Linked DNA regions of Homo sapiens: region 2 is linked to region 1. The links are contacts of gene promoters, found by promoter capture Hi-C in blood cells and fetal thymus (Javierre and others, 2016). All regions are on one chromosome and are shown on one strand. The core of a region is centred on a gene start or on the middle of the fragment in contact, and the rest is flanking DNA. Distances in the headings are between cores, read along the strand shown. Region 1 holds the start of KDM5D (lysine demethylase 5D). Region 2 overlaps LOC107987346 (a long non-coding RNA gene).

Evidence for each region. Contacts are between HindIII fragments. The CHiCAGO score rates a contact against its expected background, and 5 or more counts as called.
Region 2: a contact is called between a fragment that was not itself captured here and the fragment with the promoter of KDM5D in region 1, in 1 of 17 cell types (activated CD4 T cells). The highest score is 6.0, in activated CD4 T cells.

What each region holds. Positions count from the first base shown.
Region 1 is chrY:19,741,844-19,749,761 of GRCh38, reverse strand. KDM5D (lysine demethylase 5D) reads left to right here and starts at 5,036. Exons shown (of 27, transcript NM_004653.5): 1 at 5,036-5,091; 2 at 5,209-5,377; 3 at 6,523-6,600; 4 at 7,905-7,918. The coding sequence starts at 5,228. KDM5D-DT (KDM5D divergent transcript) reads right to left here and starts at 4,977. Exons shown (of 3, transcript XR_938630.4): 1 at 4,049-4,977. The HindIII fragment of the contact is 5,320 bases long and covers 340-5,659 here.
Region 2 is chrY:21,243,358-21,251,275 of GRCh38, reverse strand. LOC107987346 (a long non-coding RNA gene) reads right to left here. Exons shown (of 4, transcript XR_007068467.1): 3 at 568-726. LOC107987347 (a long non-coding RNA gene) reads left to right here. Exons shown (of 3, transcript XR_001756079.2): 3 at 2,126-3,211. Among named protein-coding and RNA genes, the nearest start is that of PRORY, 200 kb to the left of the region's middle. The HindIII fragment of the contact is 1,273 bases long and covers 2,875-4,147 here.

The sequences.
Region 1 (7,918 bases), core at 3,787-6,286:
AATTCAGTGCAAGAATAAGGATCCTAGTGCTACTCCACTTATCGGGGCCATATCTGGAACATACCTCAAAATAATGTAATGAAAGTCATGTATGAAAAACCCACTGCAAACATCATACTGAAAAGGCAAAAGCTGGAATCATTTTCCTTGAAAACTGGCACAAGACAAAGATGTCCTCTGACACTACTTGTATCCAATATAGTATTGAAAGTTCTGGGCAATCAGGCCAGAGAAAGGAATAAAAGATATTGAAATAGGAAGAGAGGAAATCAAATTATCCCTGTTTGCAACCAATATGATTCTATATGCACACAAATCCATCATCTCAGCCCCAAAGCTTTTTAAGCTGATAAACAACTTGAGCAAAATCTCACAATACAAAATCAATGTGCAAAAATCATTAGCGTTCTTATACACCATCAATAGTAAAGCCAAGAGCCAAGTCATGAACAAACTCTCATTCACCATAGCCACAAAAAGAATAAAACACCTAAAGTACAGCTAACCAGGGAAGTGAAAGACCTGTACAGGAAGAACTATTAATACAAATCACTACTCAAATAACTAAGAGATGACATAAACAAATGGAAAGTATTCCATGCTCACAGATAGGCGGAATCAATATCACTAAATGGCCACTCTGCCCAAAGCAATTTATAGATCCAATGCTATACCCATTAAATTACCATTAACATTCTTCACAGAACTAGAAAAATCTATTTTAAAATTCATGTGAAACCAAAAAAGAGACTGTACAGCCAAGGCAATTTTAAGCAACATAATCAAAACTAAATTCATCATGCTTCCCAACTTCAAACTACACTACAGAAGTACCGTAACCCAAACAGCATGGTACTGATAAAAGAACAGACACATAGACCAAAGGAATAGAATGGAAAACCCAGAAATATGACTACATGCTTACAAGTATCTGATTTTCAAGAAAATTTACAAAAGCAATGGTGAAAAGACTCTCTATTTAATAAATGGTGCTGTGAGAAACTGGCTAGCCATATAGAGAAAATTGAAACTGGACCTTTTTATTACTCCATATACAAAAATTAACTCAAGATGGATTAAAGACTTAAATGTAAAACCCAAAACTATAAAAACCCTAGAAGCAAATCTAGGCAAAACCATTCAGAACATAGGCAGGAGTAAAGACTTCTTGAAGAAGATGTCAAAAGCAATTGTGACAAAAGAAAAAATTAACAAATGACATCTAATTAAACTAAAGAGCTTCTGCACTAGCAAATAAACCATCAACAAATTAAATAGACAAAGTACAGAATGGGAAAAAATTGTAAACTATGCATCTGACAAAGGTCTAATATCTAGCATACACAAAGAACTTATACAAATTTACAAGGAAAAAACAAAGAACCTCATTAAAAAGTGGGCAAAGGACATGAACAGACAATTCTCAAGACATACACATGTAGACAACAAACATCTTAAAAAGCTCAACATCACTGATCCTTATAGAAATGCGCATCAAAACCACAATGAGATAGTATCCCAAACCTGTCAGAATACCTATTATTATAAAGTCAAAAAATAACAGATTCAGGTGAGGTTCTGGAGAAATAGAAATGCTTTTACACTGCTGGTGGGAATGTAAATTAGTTCAGCATTATGGAAGACAGTGTGGCAATTCCTCAAAGACCTAAAGATAGAATTATCATTCAACCCCACCAATCCCATTACTGGGTATATCCCAAAGGATTATAAATCATTCTGTTATAAAGATACATGCACATGTATGTTCACTGCAGGTATTCACAACAGCATATGTACATTCACTGCAGCTATTCACGAAAGCAAAGACAATGGAATCAGCCCAAATGCTCGTCAGTGATAGACTGGATAAAGAAAATGTGGTAAATATACACCATAGATTTCTATGCAGCCATAAAAAAAGACAAGATCATGTCTTTGCAGTAACACAGCTGGAGACCATTATCCTTAGCAAACAAACGCCAGAACCGAAAACCAAATACTGCATGTTCTCATTTATAAGTGGGTGAGTGGAGCACAGGAGGAGGGAGAGAAGCAAGAAATATAACTAATGGATATTAGGCTTAATACCTGGGTGATGAAATAATCTGTACAACGAACCCTATCACACAGGCTTACTTATAAAACAAACCATCATATAGTGCACATGAACCTCTGAACTTAAAAGTTAAAAAATATATGTATTACAATAAATGAAGTTAGCAAGGTGCCAGAACACAAGATCAACATACAAAAATTAATCATATTTCTGTGTATCACTAACAAACCCTTAATAGGGGAAATCTTTTAAAAATTTGATTCATAGTAGCAGAAATAGAATAAGATAATCTGAAGTAAATTAATTTCAAATATATATAATACATACTAAATACTAATATACAAAAAATACCAAAAACTATAAAACTTTGTTGCAGGAAACCAAAGAAGACCTAAATAAATTGAAATACATGCTTTGTCCATGTATAGGAAACTTAGATGGAAATATTTCCTAAATTTGTCTGTAGATTCAACATTTCTGTCTCAGTCCCAGCTTGCTTGTCTGTTGAAACCCCAGCTTGTTTCTCTGTAGAAACAGGCAAGGTAATAAAAATACAAGAAACAAATAATAGCCAAACAGTCTCGAAAAAAACAAGAAGAAAGTTGGGATTACTCACTTTTCCCAATTCAAACCTTCCACAAACTACAGCAATAAAAACAATATGGCATTAGAATATATACATACATATAAATATGGAACGAAATTGAGAGTCCAAGAATAAACCCATACATTTATGGCCAACGGAATGTTATCAAGAGTGCCAAGAACAATTAATGAAGCAATAATAATGTTTCCAACAAATTCTGGGACAACTAGATGGCAACACGCAAAAATATTGAGTTGGATCATTACTTCACAGTGTTTACACAAGTTAACTCAAAATGTATCAAAGACTTTAATGTAGAAGCTAATACTATAAAGGTCCTAGAATAGAGGAGAAGAGTACATCCTTGTGATTTTGGGTTAGACAAAATCCCCTCAGAGGCAACACTGAAAGTACAAGTGACAATAGAAAAAAGCAAACTGGATAAAGATCAAATTAAAAATCTTTCTGTTCAAAGTTTACTATTAGGAAAGAGAAAAGCCAGCTTACAGAATTATTTTTTATAAAAATCAAATATTTGATAAAAGAATCAGATAAGATTACAACTAAACAAAAAAAGACAAACCAATGTGAAAAGAGCCAAAAATTTTGAATAGACATTTCTCCAGAGAAGGTATATAAAGCATATGAACAAGCCAACAACCTTACGAAAAGATGCTCAACACTACTGTATCATTAGTAATTCAAGAAGTCCAACTCAAAACTCTATGAGATCTCATACACATTGTAATGGTCAAATCAGTAAGTCATGTAATTATAGTATTGGTGAGGACATGAAGAAACTAGAACGGTATTCCACTTTAGATGGAAATTAAATGATGAAGATGCTTTGGAAAAGAAAAGTTTAAACCTAAAGTTCCCATATAACCCACTAATTCTACTTGTAGGTGTATACACACGAGAAATGACACTAAGCATGCACACAAAAACCGGTACACAAATGCTAATAGCAACATTATAATAGCTAAAAGTAGAAATTGAAATATCTATTTACTAATGAATTCATAAAATATAAAGCTGTATTATAATGAATTATCTTGAACAGAGAAAAAAGATCTCATCATTTGAAATAATACAGGCTCTATAACTAATTTTATGAAATAGAACTCTATAACTCTAACTTTATGAAACAGAAAAAGTATGTAGATAAAACTAGGAAAAAGAAAGCAGAAAATTAAGTAACAACTTTTGAAACAGGAATATATATGTAATGTAGTATAATAAACTCATGAAGCCGATAATCTAGATGAAATGGATAAATTGTTAAAAAAAAAAACGGAAATGCCAAGAATCGTACAATACGAAACAATTGTCAAACTATCAAACTTTAAGGCACTTCTGGCAGTGCCCTTCCAAATAAAATCTACCATTTGATTTTTAAAACTTACCTTTTGCGTATTTTTCAAAAATATATGGAGAACAAAAAGATACTACAGTAGTGAACTGATTAAAAAAAAACAGAATAGCAATGTAGGGGGATTTTTGCTTAACGGGTGTAAAATATTGTAAATAAAATTATAGGAAATAAAGTGTAACATCTTGTTTTGAAATAAAACATCGCAATAAAGTATAATTTCCCTTAAAAACAGCATGATATTTCCACATCAAAAAACGGATCATTAGCAGTGTGTTTCTTTTGATTTATGGTACGTGTGTTTAGCGATGTTGAAGGTTTACTGTAATCTGTCCAGGTCTTTGTGATCATTTTAAAATTTAGGGTGCTCCTAGGTAATTTTTAAGGGATGTTTATCATGTGCAGTAAAGGTTTTATTCAAAAACATTTAGCACTTCTTTTCCCCGTCCTAAAGTCCAAGCTCGAGTTGGTAAAAAATCCAACGACAAATGTGCCCACTTGAAGTGCACTGTTAATGCAACAGTTTACAAGAACATAAATACATTGTACCGGCATCCTGCCTCCTAAACGTCTTGTGACAGGAACGTTCTCGAGCTGAGAACCCAGTGAGTCTTCAGAGAATGTTAGTAAACACTTTCACATGAACGGATATCGCCGGCGGTTTGTCCTGGCAGGAAAAAAAAAAGGTGCGTTTCTACGGACATTTCCGCAAAGGAGGAATTTTCTCCGAGAAATCCTTCGTTGATCAGCACCACAGCCTTTTACGGTCCTTCCCTGCAATACGCAGGCGTAACTTGCGCAGTGGTCCCATTTTAAAAAAGATCCGGCCATACTATTTTTATCTTGCTTTTTCGTTCTGTCGCAGTACTGTTTAATATGAGTCCAGCGACGGCTCTGTGACTGTTTTCCTCTGGTAAAATCGCTCTTGCGTCCTCAGCGTTTATCTCAGGTGCGGAAGGTCTCACAGGTTTGGAAATAGCGCCGGAAAAATCGATCCGCGGAGTGAGACGGCTCGTACCACACTGCAGGGCCCGGAGGTCAAGATGGTGGCTGTAAAACTAGGATCCCTGACGATTGGTAAGCAGCTACGGGATTAAAGTAACCTTGAAATTCTCAAGAAAATGAAATTTTCATAGGCCTTTTAGTAGGAGGAACCAGCGCGTCATTAAAGACAATGTGATTCTTATTTTACAGCTTAGCATTAAGGCCCGACATGGAACCGGGGTGTGACGAGTTCCTGCCGCCACCGGAGTGCCCGGTTTTTGAGCCTAGCTGGGCTGAATTCCAAGACCCGCTTGGCTACATTGCGAAAATAAGGCCCATAGCAGAGAAGTCTGGCATCTGCAAAATCCGCCCACCCGCGGTAAGTCTTTGAAACAAAATTTGGGAATGGGTAGCCTTTGGTTTGAACGTTGGGGCAGTTTACCACTTGGCGAGGCGTTATTTACACTCATGACCAGAAACCCTTAGCACCAAATTTCTCATTTAACTTTTCTGACCCGAACAAGCTGGCATCAGAATATTAGTATCAGATCGCCACATTCCACGGGGTTCTAAACATCTGACTGCTGTAGGGACAAAAATATAAGATTCAAATATTTCTACGTTCTGCTGTTATTAAATATAGTTTAGGCATACACAAGCTTTTATTACATTTAACCGCAAAAAAATAGCTTACTCAGAAGTACTTGATCTATGACAGAAGCAAGTTATATAAGCTTGTGTGTTAACCACTTGGACTGGTGTTTTCTTTCTTTGATATGACCTTAGATGTATGTAGCAAATATAGCAAATAATGGGAGTGATGTGGCATCCTTTGCCATCAATTAAATTTATTATTAAACGTAGACCATTTTGGGTTGCTATACTGAAAACTACTAAATGAACCTCGTAGAAGTTTGACTGAATTAAGAATGTAAACTGAAATAAGCCTGGGCTGTCGTCGTGAACAACTAACACAATATTCAGAGAAGTCAAAAAGTTTTCGCAGAGCATACAGCTTTTTTCTCATATATTGAACCAGGCTGCAACGTTATTTTTATGTGGATGTTCGCACTTCTCAGCATTTGCAATTAAACTTTTTCGTACTGCTGGGAGTGGGAAGAGATAATGGCTTAGGTTTTAAAAAGTGAAACAATTTTTTATCTGCATTACATTTATCTTCATTTTAGTAAGGACTCATAACCCAAATAGCATAGTGTTTGTTCAGATGTGCGTCATTCCTTGGAAGTCGAGTCGCTTTCTAGCCTTGGGATTATAGAGGTTTTTTTTTTTTTTTTCGTCTGTTACGAAGGACACATATCAAGGAGAGTTTTGGATTTGCAGGGTTTTTCCTTTTTTTTTTTTTTTTGCAGTTAATCTTGATTATGAAGAAGGAATCATTTGAGGCCCTTGTGTACAAAAATGGTTACCAGAAGACTTTAAAAGAGTGGGAACAAATGATTGTGGTTTTCACTATCTTCATCCTTTACTGTGCCATAGTTACCAGGTCCTTACACTTTCTTCTAGGATTGGCAGCCTCCTTTTGCAGTAGAAGTTGACAATTTCAGATTTACTCCTCGCGTCCAAAGGCTAAATGAACTGGAGGTAAGATTGGGAGGCACACTTTTTTTAAAGGAATCTGATCTTTAATCTTGCCGTTGTAGTTTCATAATAATGTAGAACTTAAGTTTTGAAATCTAATGTATTGAATTTGAACCCGAACTCCACCATTTTCCAGAATACTGATTTTGGAGAAAGTCTTCTATAAAATACATAATTTATGTCCACAAAAATGGTAGAACACAAAGGCTTTAAATATCTGAGGAAGAATGATGCATTGTTTCGCTGTTCAATAGTTTCAGGTTAGAACTATCAAAATGACAGTACCTTTCCCATTTTGTCTTCTCGTACTCACATATTTAATGAATGAATTTTTTTTTTTGAAACAGAGTCTCACCCTGTCTACCAGGCTGGAGTGCAGTGGCGGGATCTCGCCTCACTGCAACCTCCACCTTCCAGGTTCAAGGGATTCTCTTGCCTCAGCCTCTCAAGTAGCTGGGATTACAGGTGCACACCAGCAGGCTCAGCTAATTTTTGTATTTTTAGTAGAGATGGAGTTTCACCGATTTGGTCATGCTGGTCTCCAACTCCAAACGTTAGGTGATCAGCCTGCCTTGGCCTCCTAAAGTGCTGGGGTTACCGGCGTAAGCCCCTGCACCCAGTGTGACTAAATTTTTTTTAGTTCTTTAACAGAAGCAGAGTTCAGACAAGAAATAGGATCTTTTAAATATCCAGCAACAGAGTGATGGTATTACATATGTTCTGCTTTAATAAAATGTCAGAGGCAAACTTGCTCTTTAAAGCAGTCAACTCAGTCTTCACAGTTTAGTATTCAATATAGAAAGTATATGAATGATTTGTCATTTTCTTTTACTCTTAGGATTTTGACTATGATCAGTAGCTAGAAGCTGTGTATGAGTTAGAGTAAGAAAGCAGTGATTCAGAAACTGGTTTTGTGTCCAGCTCTTTTACATGAACTAGAAAAATATTTTAATTCTTTGAATTATATATCAGTACATTCTAAATGAGTGTCTTGATGATATTGAGTCTAAATACTGTTGGAGCCTACATATTTTTGGTCAAGCCACCTTTAAGTCCAAGAATAATTCCTTAAATTTAGACATGATGTTGATCCTAAGACGGCACATTCTTAGCTCTTTATAGATTAAAGACTCAGCTTATTTGAGCTTTTTGTGGACCCCGCTGGTGAGATAAGACAGTGAAGCTGGGGCTCCGGCACGTTGGTGGAGAAGTGTAGATAGCATAGAATAATACTTGTTCATTTACTGCATACTCGATGAAGTCAGGTTAAGGAGTATGCCAATCTTATAAGGCCCTCTCTTTCCCAGGCCCAAACTAGAGT
Region 2 (7,918 bases), core at 2,262-4,761, 1.5 Mb before region 1:
AGCCAGAGAGCCAAGTGGTCTTGCTCAGTGGGTCCCACTCCCATGGAGTCAGCACCCTAAGAACCACTGGCTTGAAATTCTTGCTGCCAACAGAGCAGCATGAAGTCAACCTGGGATGATCAGGCTTGGTTGGGGAAGAGGCATCCACCATTACTGAGGATGGAGTAGACAGTTTTCCCCTGACAGTGCTAAGGAGGCTAGGAAGTTCATACTGGGCAGAATTCACCAAAGCATGTCAAAGCGGCTGTGGCCAGACTGACTCTCTAGATTCCTCCTCACTAGGGAGGGCATCTCTGAAAGAAAGGCAGTAGCCCCATTCAAGGGATTATAGACAAACTCCCATCTCCGTGGAAAAAGAGCACATGGGGAAAGGGCTGGCTATGTGCCCAGCAACAGCATACTTAAATATTCTTGCCTGCCATCTCTGAAGAGAGCAGCATCTGTCAAGAAGGATTCTCCCAGCACAGTGCTCCAGCTCTGCTAAGGGACAGACTACCTGCTCAAGTAGGTCCCTGACACCCATGACTCCTAACTGGGAGATACCACCAAACAGGAGTAGACAGACACCTTGTACAGGAGAGCTGTGGCTGGCATCAGGCCAGTGTCCCTCTGGGATGAAGCTTCCAGAGGAAGGAGCAGGTGGCAATCCTTTCTGTTCTGCAGCCTCCACTGGTGACACCCAGGCAAACAGGGTCTGGAGTGGACCTCCCGCAAACTGCAGCAGACCTGCAGAAGAGGGACCTGACCGTTAGAAAAAAACAAACAGAAAGAAACAATATCACCATCAACAAAAGGACCCCCACTAAAAAAACCTGTCCAAAGATCATCAGCCTCAAAGAGCAAAGGCAGATAAATCCATGAAGATAAGAAAAAAAAAACAAAAAACATGCTGAAAATTTAAGGAACCAGAATACCTCATCTTCTCCAAATGATTGAAATTCCTCTCCAGCAAGGGCAGAAAACTGGATGGGGAATGAGTTTCATGAGTTGATAGAAGTAGACTTCAGAAGGTGGGTAATAAAAAACTCCTCTGAATTAAAGGAACATGTGCTAACCCAATGCAAGAAAGCTAAGAACCTTTATAAAAGGTGACAGAAATTGCTAACTAGAATACCCAGTTTAGAGAAGAATATAAATGACCTGAAGGAGCTGAAAAACAGTGCTAAAACCTTTGTGAAGCATACACAAGTATCAATATCCAGATTAATCAGGTGGAAGAAAGGATATTAGAGGTTGAAGAAGAGCTTACTGAAATAAAACATGAAGACAAGGTTAGAGAAAAGAAAAGGAATGTGAAGTAGAAAATTAAAAGAAAATTAAAGCTTGCTTAAAAATTGTTGTTAGAGTTAGGATGGAATAGGCCTCAAATAGCCCCCTTCCAAAGTACGAGTTAAGAAAGAATACTAACTACTTCTCTGTGAAATATTAACCATATCTACCCTCTGCATATTTTGTAAGTTCTCTAAGTTTCTGTTTTACTGCTGAACAGCTGAAAGGTCACAAGATAGATAACCACTAGCTGTAAAACATGTTTTATCAAAGATGTAAGACGTGTCACAGATGATTAACTGCTTTTGTTCTCGCTTCTGTAAGCCTGCTTCCTGCCTCATGTACTGCCTGCCTTAAGATGCATAAAAGGCCGGGAGCAGTGGCTCATGCCTATAATCCCAGCACTTTGAGAGGCCGAGGCAGGCAGATCACGAGGTCAGGAGATCAAGACCATCCTGGCTAACAAGGTGAAACCCCGTCTCTACTAAAAATACAAAAACTTAGCCAGGCATGGTGGCAGGCACCTGTAGTCCCAGCCACTCAGGAGGCTGAGGCAGGAGAATGGTGTGAACCCGGGAGGTGGAACTTGCAGTGAGCTGAGATCACACCACTGCACCCCAGCCAGGGTGACAGAGTGAGACTCTGCGTCAAAAAACAAAAACTGCATAAAAGATACTTGCCTTGTTTGTTTGGTGCTCAGACTTTCTGGACACTAGTCCACTGAGCCAGTGTATACCTTAAATAATAAATCGTCCTTTGACCCCATCAGTCTCTCCAGTCTCTGATTTCCTGTAACATTTTCTAGGGGCTCATCCAGGATTGGAGATGGCAAATGTTCTGTCTCCTTTGCCCATAGGACTGGAGCCCAAGAGCAGGGGATACCTGAAATCCTAGGCACTGACAGGAGAACTTCAGACTGGAGAGGAGACCAGCTCTCCTGCATCCCGGTGCCCTTCCCTAACAGCACAATGGAACTGGCAAAGGGGCTACAGGACAATTCCAGGAGCTGCGTGCATTCTTCAAAAACGTGGTAAGGCCTGAAGCCCCAAGTCAAGACCCATCCCATAAGGATGAAACGGGGGCCTAATCACTTCCCAGGGTGTGACTACTCGTCTAACACAGAGGGGCTGAGGAAAGTGGGAGTGACCTGCCAGTTTGGATGAAACTTACAACCTAACTGTCACAGCACATGAAAGAGGCTCACTAAGTCAGTTTAGGAAAATAAAAACTGAAACTAGACGTAGCAAGAATGAGTTGCCACCCTAATTAAAAAACGTGAACTGGGAGTGAAGAGGCATGTGAAAGCACATTAAAGAGACAGTTCTGGGAAGGGCCAACATGGGGCATGACAGGTGAAGGCACAGATCTCTTAATGTGGACTGTGGGCTCTGGAGCCAGTGTGTGGCTGACCAGATCTAGAGCGATCTGTATAAGGCTGACAGGAGCTGCCCTACAGCTGCAGCAGCTGCAGTGGGAATACGATACTGTCCTAGCTAAGCAGTGCATGAAATTCCCGTAATAGGAACCAGTCTGATCAGTCTGTAACAAAAGGTAGAGTGAGTGTGTGTCATAAAAGGAGGAATGGGAGGAAAATCATCAAAAGCTTCTCCATTGGAGTGCATGTTAAATAATTCTGGGAAACGCTTTGGAGGAGATTATGGGGTAAAACTGACCCCCCAAAGGTTGAGAACTCTCTGTGAATTAGACTGGCCTTCTTTTAATGTTGTGTGGCCTGCCAAAGACACAATAGATAGGGAAGAAATTGGCCATGTGTTTAAGGAAGTGACAGGGGTTGGAGAACAGCCTGGGAATCTAGATCAGTTCCCATATATTGATTCCTGGTTGAACATGGTTCTAACACATCCCAAATGGATACAACCTTATTTGACAAGTTATTGTAAGTCTCTGGTAGCCTGAGCTATACCTAAGGAAGTTGAGAAGTCTATCTCAATAGGAGCCTCAGAGGAGAAGAAAAAGCAACAGAGTAGTCAGGAAAAAACAGTCTTCCAAACGCTTTCCAAGGAAAGAAAGTTTCCTCCTTCTTATGCTCCAATACACCCATCCTTGTCAGGGCTAAGACAAGGCAGAAAGCAAATGGCCCTCGAGGAATCAGGCTCAGAGAAAAGTGAGTCTCAAGCAGCATAACCCCATGGAGGGGATCCTGAGCCCCTGCCCATAAAAACCAAAGAGGAAAGGCAGGATTAAACAGCAAGCCACTTCTGGTCAGGCTGCACCCAAGCCTTGCAAATGCTCTTCCATGAGACTCGAGCACAGACGTATTATTATGAACAAGGCCGGGTCCGGGGTGGGCAGTGAATTTTTGTCTACCAGCCTTTCTCCATCACAGACCACCTAAATGGGGAACAGCATACTCCATCCTATACAGAGAAGCCCCAGTCTGTAATAGACCTGTTGCGGTCCATTTTTCTGACTCGCAATTCTACCTGGCCAGACTGCCAGCAGCTCCTTCTGACATGGTTCAATACAAAGGAGCATCAGAGGGTGTCCAAAGAGGCCCTCCAGTGGATAGAGAACAATGCACCTGATGGCACACATGATGTCTGGTGGTATGCCCAGGAACAGTTCTCAGAGACAGACCCAAATTGGAACCCAAATGAGGCAAAAGAGCAGCTCTGCCTGCAGAGATATCAGGAAGCACTCTTAAATGGGATAAAAGCTGAAGGGAAAAAGGCAATGAACATAGGAAAAATTTCAGAGGTCCTTAAAAAGGCTGATGAGAGCCCAAGTCAGTCCTATGAGAGTCTCTGTGAGGCATACCAGCTCTATAGCCCATTTGACCCCGAGGCTACAGAGAGAATCAGTGCATGGTGAATATGTCATTTGTTAGTCAGGCACAGGCAGACATTAAACAAAAGCTTTGGGATCTTGAAGGTTTTGCAGGCATGAATGCCACCCAGCTAATAGAAGTATCCACCAAAGTATGTGTTAACCACGATCAGGAGGAAAGGAAGGAGGCTAAGCAGATGATTAAGAAAAAGGCCGAGCTACTGGTGGCAGCCGTTGTTGAAATAGAAACTAGCATTGTAAGGGGACAAGGATGTGGTCATGGTCATGGTTATGAAGAGGTCAAAGTGGCCCGGATTTGAAGGCCAGAGAAGGCTGGAGAGGGATTAGTGTGCATTACGCAAAAAGAAAGCACATTGGAAGGATGAATGTCCAGAGAAGGATAAGGGCAATATCTGTGACCAGGGAGCTTGGCCAGAGCTACCAGCTGTAAGTCATTGTGTTCTGAAACCGGATGCCAACTTGATCAGCCTGGCAGAGACTGTGGAGGACTGAGACAGACTGTTTCTCCATCTCTTTGGGCCACCAGGAGCCTATGGTCACAGTGGAGAGAGGGGACCAATGGATGGACTTTATGGTAGATACCAGAGCTAAACACTGAGTAGTTACCCAACCCATAGGGCTACTATCTAAGAATTATACCACTATTTTCAGGGGATCTGGAGTTTCAGAAAAAGGCCTTTTTGCTGGTCAAGGGGTTGCATTATTGGAGGATGAGAAGTCCACCATGAGTTTCTATACCTTACAAATTGTCAAGTTTCTTTGCTAGGGAAAAACTTGCTCCAAATACTACAGGCACACATTTCCTTTGCACCACAAGGAAATATGTATTTAAACTTACGTCAACCAAAAGCTATGGTGTTAACCCTCACACTGCCAAAAGCTGAGGAATGGAGGCTATATGCACAAGTACCACTTAAGCAAGGACTGCTAGGACCTCTTGAGAAGTATGGGCTAGTTACCAAAATACCTAGAGTATGGGCGGAAAACAATCCACCTGGATTGGCTGTAAATCAGGCACCAGTCTTAGTAGAGTTAAAACCAGGAGCCACCCTGGTATGAGTTTGTCAGTAACTGATTTTCATATAAGCCATCCAAGGTGTTCAAAAGCATATAGACTGGCTTTTCAAGAATAGAATCATAGTTAAATGCAGATAAGTTTGGACCACTCCTCTGTTGCCAGTATGAAAGCCATCTGGGGAATATGGGCCAGTGCAGGATTTGCGTGCCATAAACCAGGTCACAGAGACAATCTATCCAGTAGTGCCCAACCCATACACCTTGTTAGGACAAATACCAGCTAGTGCAGCCTGGTTTATTTTCTTCTACCTAAAGGATGCATTCTTTTGTCTCCAGCTGGTGCCAGTGAGCTGACCTATCTTTGCATTTCATTGGGGAGAAACACAGTATACTTGGACAAGGCTCCCACGAGGGTTTAAGAACTCCCCTACAATCTTTGGAGAAGTGCTAGCATCAGATCTCAGGAGCTTTCATTCCACCTAATGACAAATGCTTCTGACTGCAGTTCATAGATAACCTCCTATTTATGGTCCCCACTCAGGTGGATTGCCTTCAGGGCACTGAGAAACTCCTCCACCTTTTGTGGAAGGCCAAATATAAAGTATCCAAGAAAAAGGCACACATCTGTTCAGAAGGAGTCATATATCTAGGTTTTGAAATAAGTGAAGGGAAATGTGAGCTTGGCAGTGAGCGAAAGCGGACTGTTTGTGCAGTACCATCCCAACCACTGGGTGCCAAATAAGGGAATTCCTAGGAGCAGCAGGTTTCTGCCACATCTACATTCCAAATTTTTTACTTATGGCAAAATTGCTGTATGAAGCCACAGAGTGGGGAAAAAGAGCCCCTTCTTTGGGAAGCCAATCAGGAAAAAGCTTACAAGGGATCAAAAGGGCTTTAATCCAGGCCCTGGCCTTAGGACTGCCAGATCAGACTAAGCCTTTCTTCCTATATGTCTATGAATGGAAGGAAGTGGCTGTAGGGATCCTGACTCAAATGATGGGGTCATGGCATATACCAGCGGTGTATTTATCCAAACAGCTGGACCCTTTGGTGCTAAGCTGGCCCCCTTGCTTTAAGACATCAGCTGCTACAACCCTTTTGTCACAAGAAGCCAATAAATTGACCTTAGGACAAAAACTAATCATCAGAGTACCCCACACAGTTATCATCTTGATGGATCAAAGGGGACATTATTGGTTGTCAAACCCAAGAATTACCAGATAGATATCAAGGACTCTTATCTGAAAATCTTTATGTAATCATAGGAACTGTTATTTCTTTAAACCCAGCCACTCTGCTACCCATAAAAAGGCCAAAAGATTCCATTCCCTATCACTATTGTGTGGATGTAGTGGAGGAATTATTCTGTAGCTGAAAAGACTTAACAGACCAGCCCCTTGTTGGCCCAGATGTTGAGTACTTCATGGATGGGAGCAGTTTTATCTCAGAAGGGATCCAGTAACCTGCATATACAGTAGTAACCTGGGACTCAGTGGTAGAGGCTCAGCCTCTGCCTGCTAGGAAATCTGCTCAGAAAGCAGAGCTAACAGCTCCAACAAGAGCCCTACTGTTGGCCAGAGGAAAAGTGGTTAACAGTTATACTGACTTTAAGTATGCCTTTGTGACACTGCTTGCTCATGGGGCCATATATAAAGAAAGAGGACTTTTAACTGCAGGAAGAAAGGAGATAAAAAATAAAGAGAAAATTCTACAACTCTTAGATGCTGCGTGGGCCCCAGAAAAGGTGGCTGTCATTCACTGCAAGGGACATAAAGCATCAGAAATTTTGAAGCAAAAGCAAACAGAAAAGCAGATAAAAAGGCACAATGGGCATCAATGGCCACTTTTCCTCCTAAAGAGGGAGCCCTAGCAATGCCTCTCTTCCCAGAGATTTCCCTCCCAGAGATCCCAAGTTACACTCTAAATGAAAGGAGTTGTTTTGCTCAGGAAAATGGAAACTACACTGAGGGAGGATGATGGAAGTTCTCTGATGGGAGGCTAGCCATACCTGAGATGATGACTCCCAGATTTGTAAATCAGTTCCACCAAGGAACCCACATGGGAAGACAGCACTAGAAACCTTGCTAGGATGGCACTTTTATGTGCAAAGACTTAGCCCCATCACTTGAGCCATCTGTGAGCAATGTCTGATTTGTCCTCAAAACAACCCATGGCAGGGGCCAACCTGGCCCCCAGCAGTTCAGAAATCAGAGCTACACCTTGTGAAAATTTACTTGTAGACTTTACCAAACTGCCCCAGGCTGGGGGCCACTGGTACCTACTAGTGCTTGTTTGCACCTTTTCACTGTGGGTTGAGGTTTTCCCAAACAGGACAGAAAAGGCATGGGAAGTAACTAGAGTGCAGTTAAAAGACTGCATTCCTAGATTTGGACTGCCTGTAACTATAGGATCAGAAAATGGCCAGGCATTTGTGGCTGAGATTGTACAGCAGCTAACACAACTACTAAAAATAAAATTGAAGTGGCACACTGCCTACCACCTGCAAAGCTCAGGAAAAGTAGAGTGGATGAACCAAACACTCAAGCAACTACTGAAGAAATTCTGTCAAGAAACTCATCTCAGGTGGGATCAGGTTTTGCCCGGAGTCCTCCTCTGAGTCAGGTGCCCCACTACCAAACAAACTGGGTATTCACCTTGGGAGATTTTGTTCAGCAGACCACCCCCAGCATAACTCAGGTTAAAGGTGACCTCCATGATTTAGGGGAATTAAACTTAACCAGGCAAATAGAGGCCTTAGGTCTAGCTATGCAGAAAGTCCATGGCTGGGTACGGGAAATGATGCCTGTAAGTCTAACAGACCCAA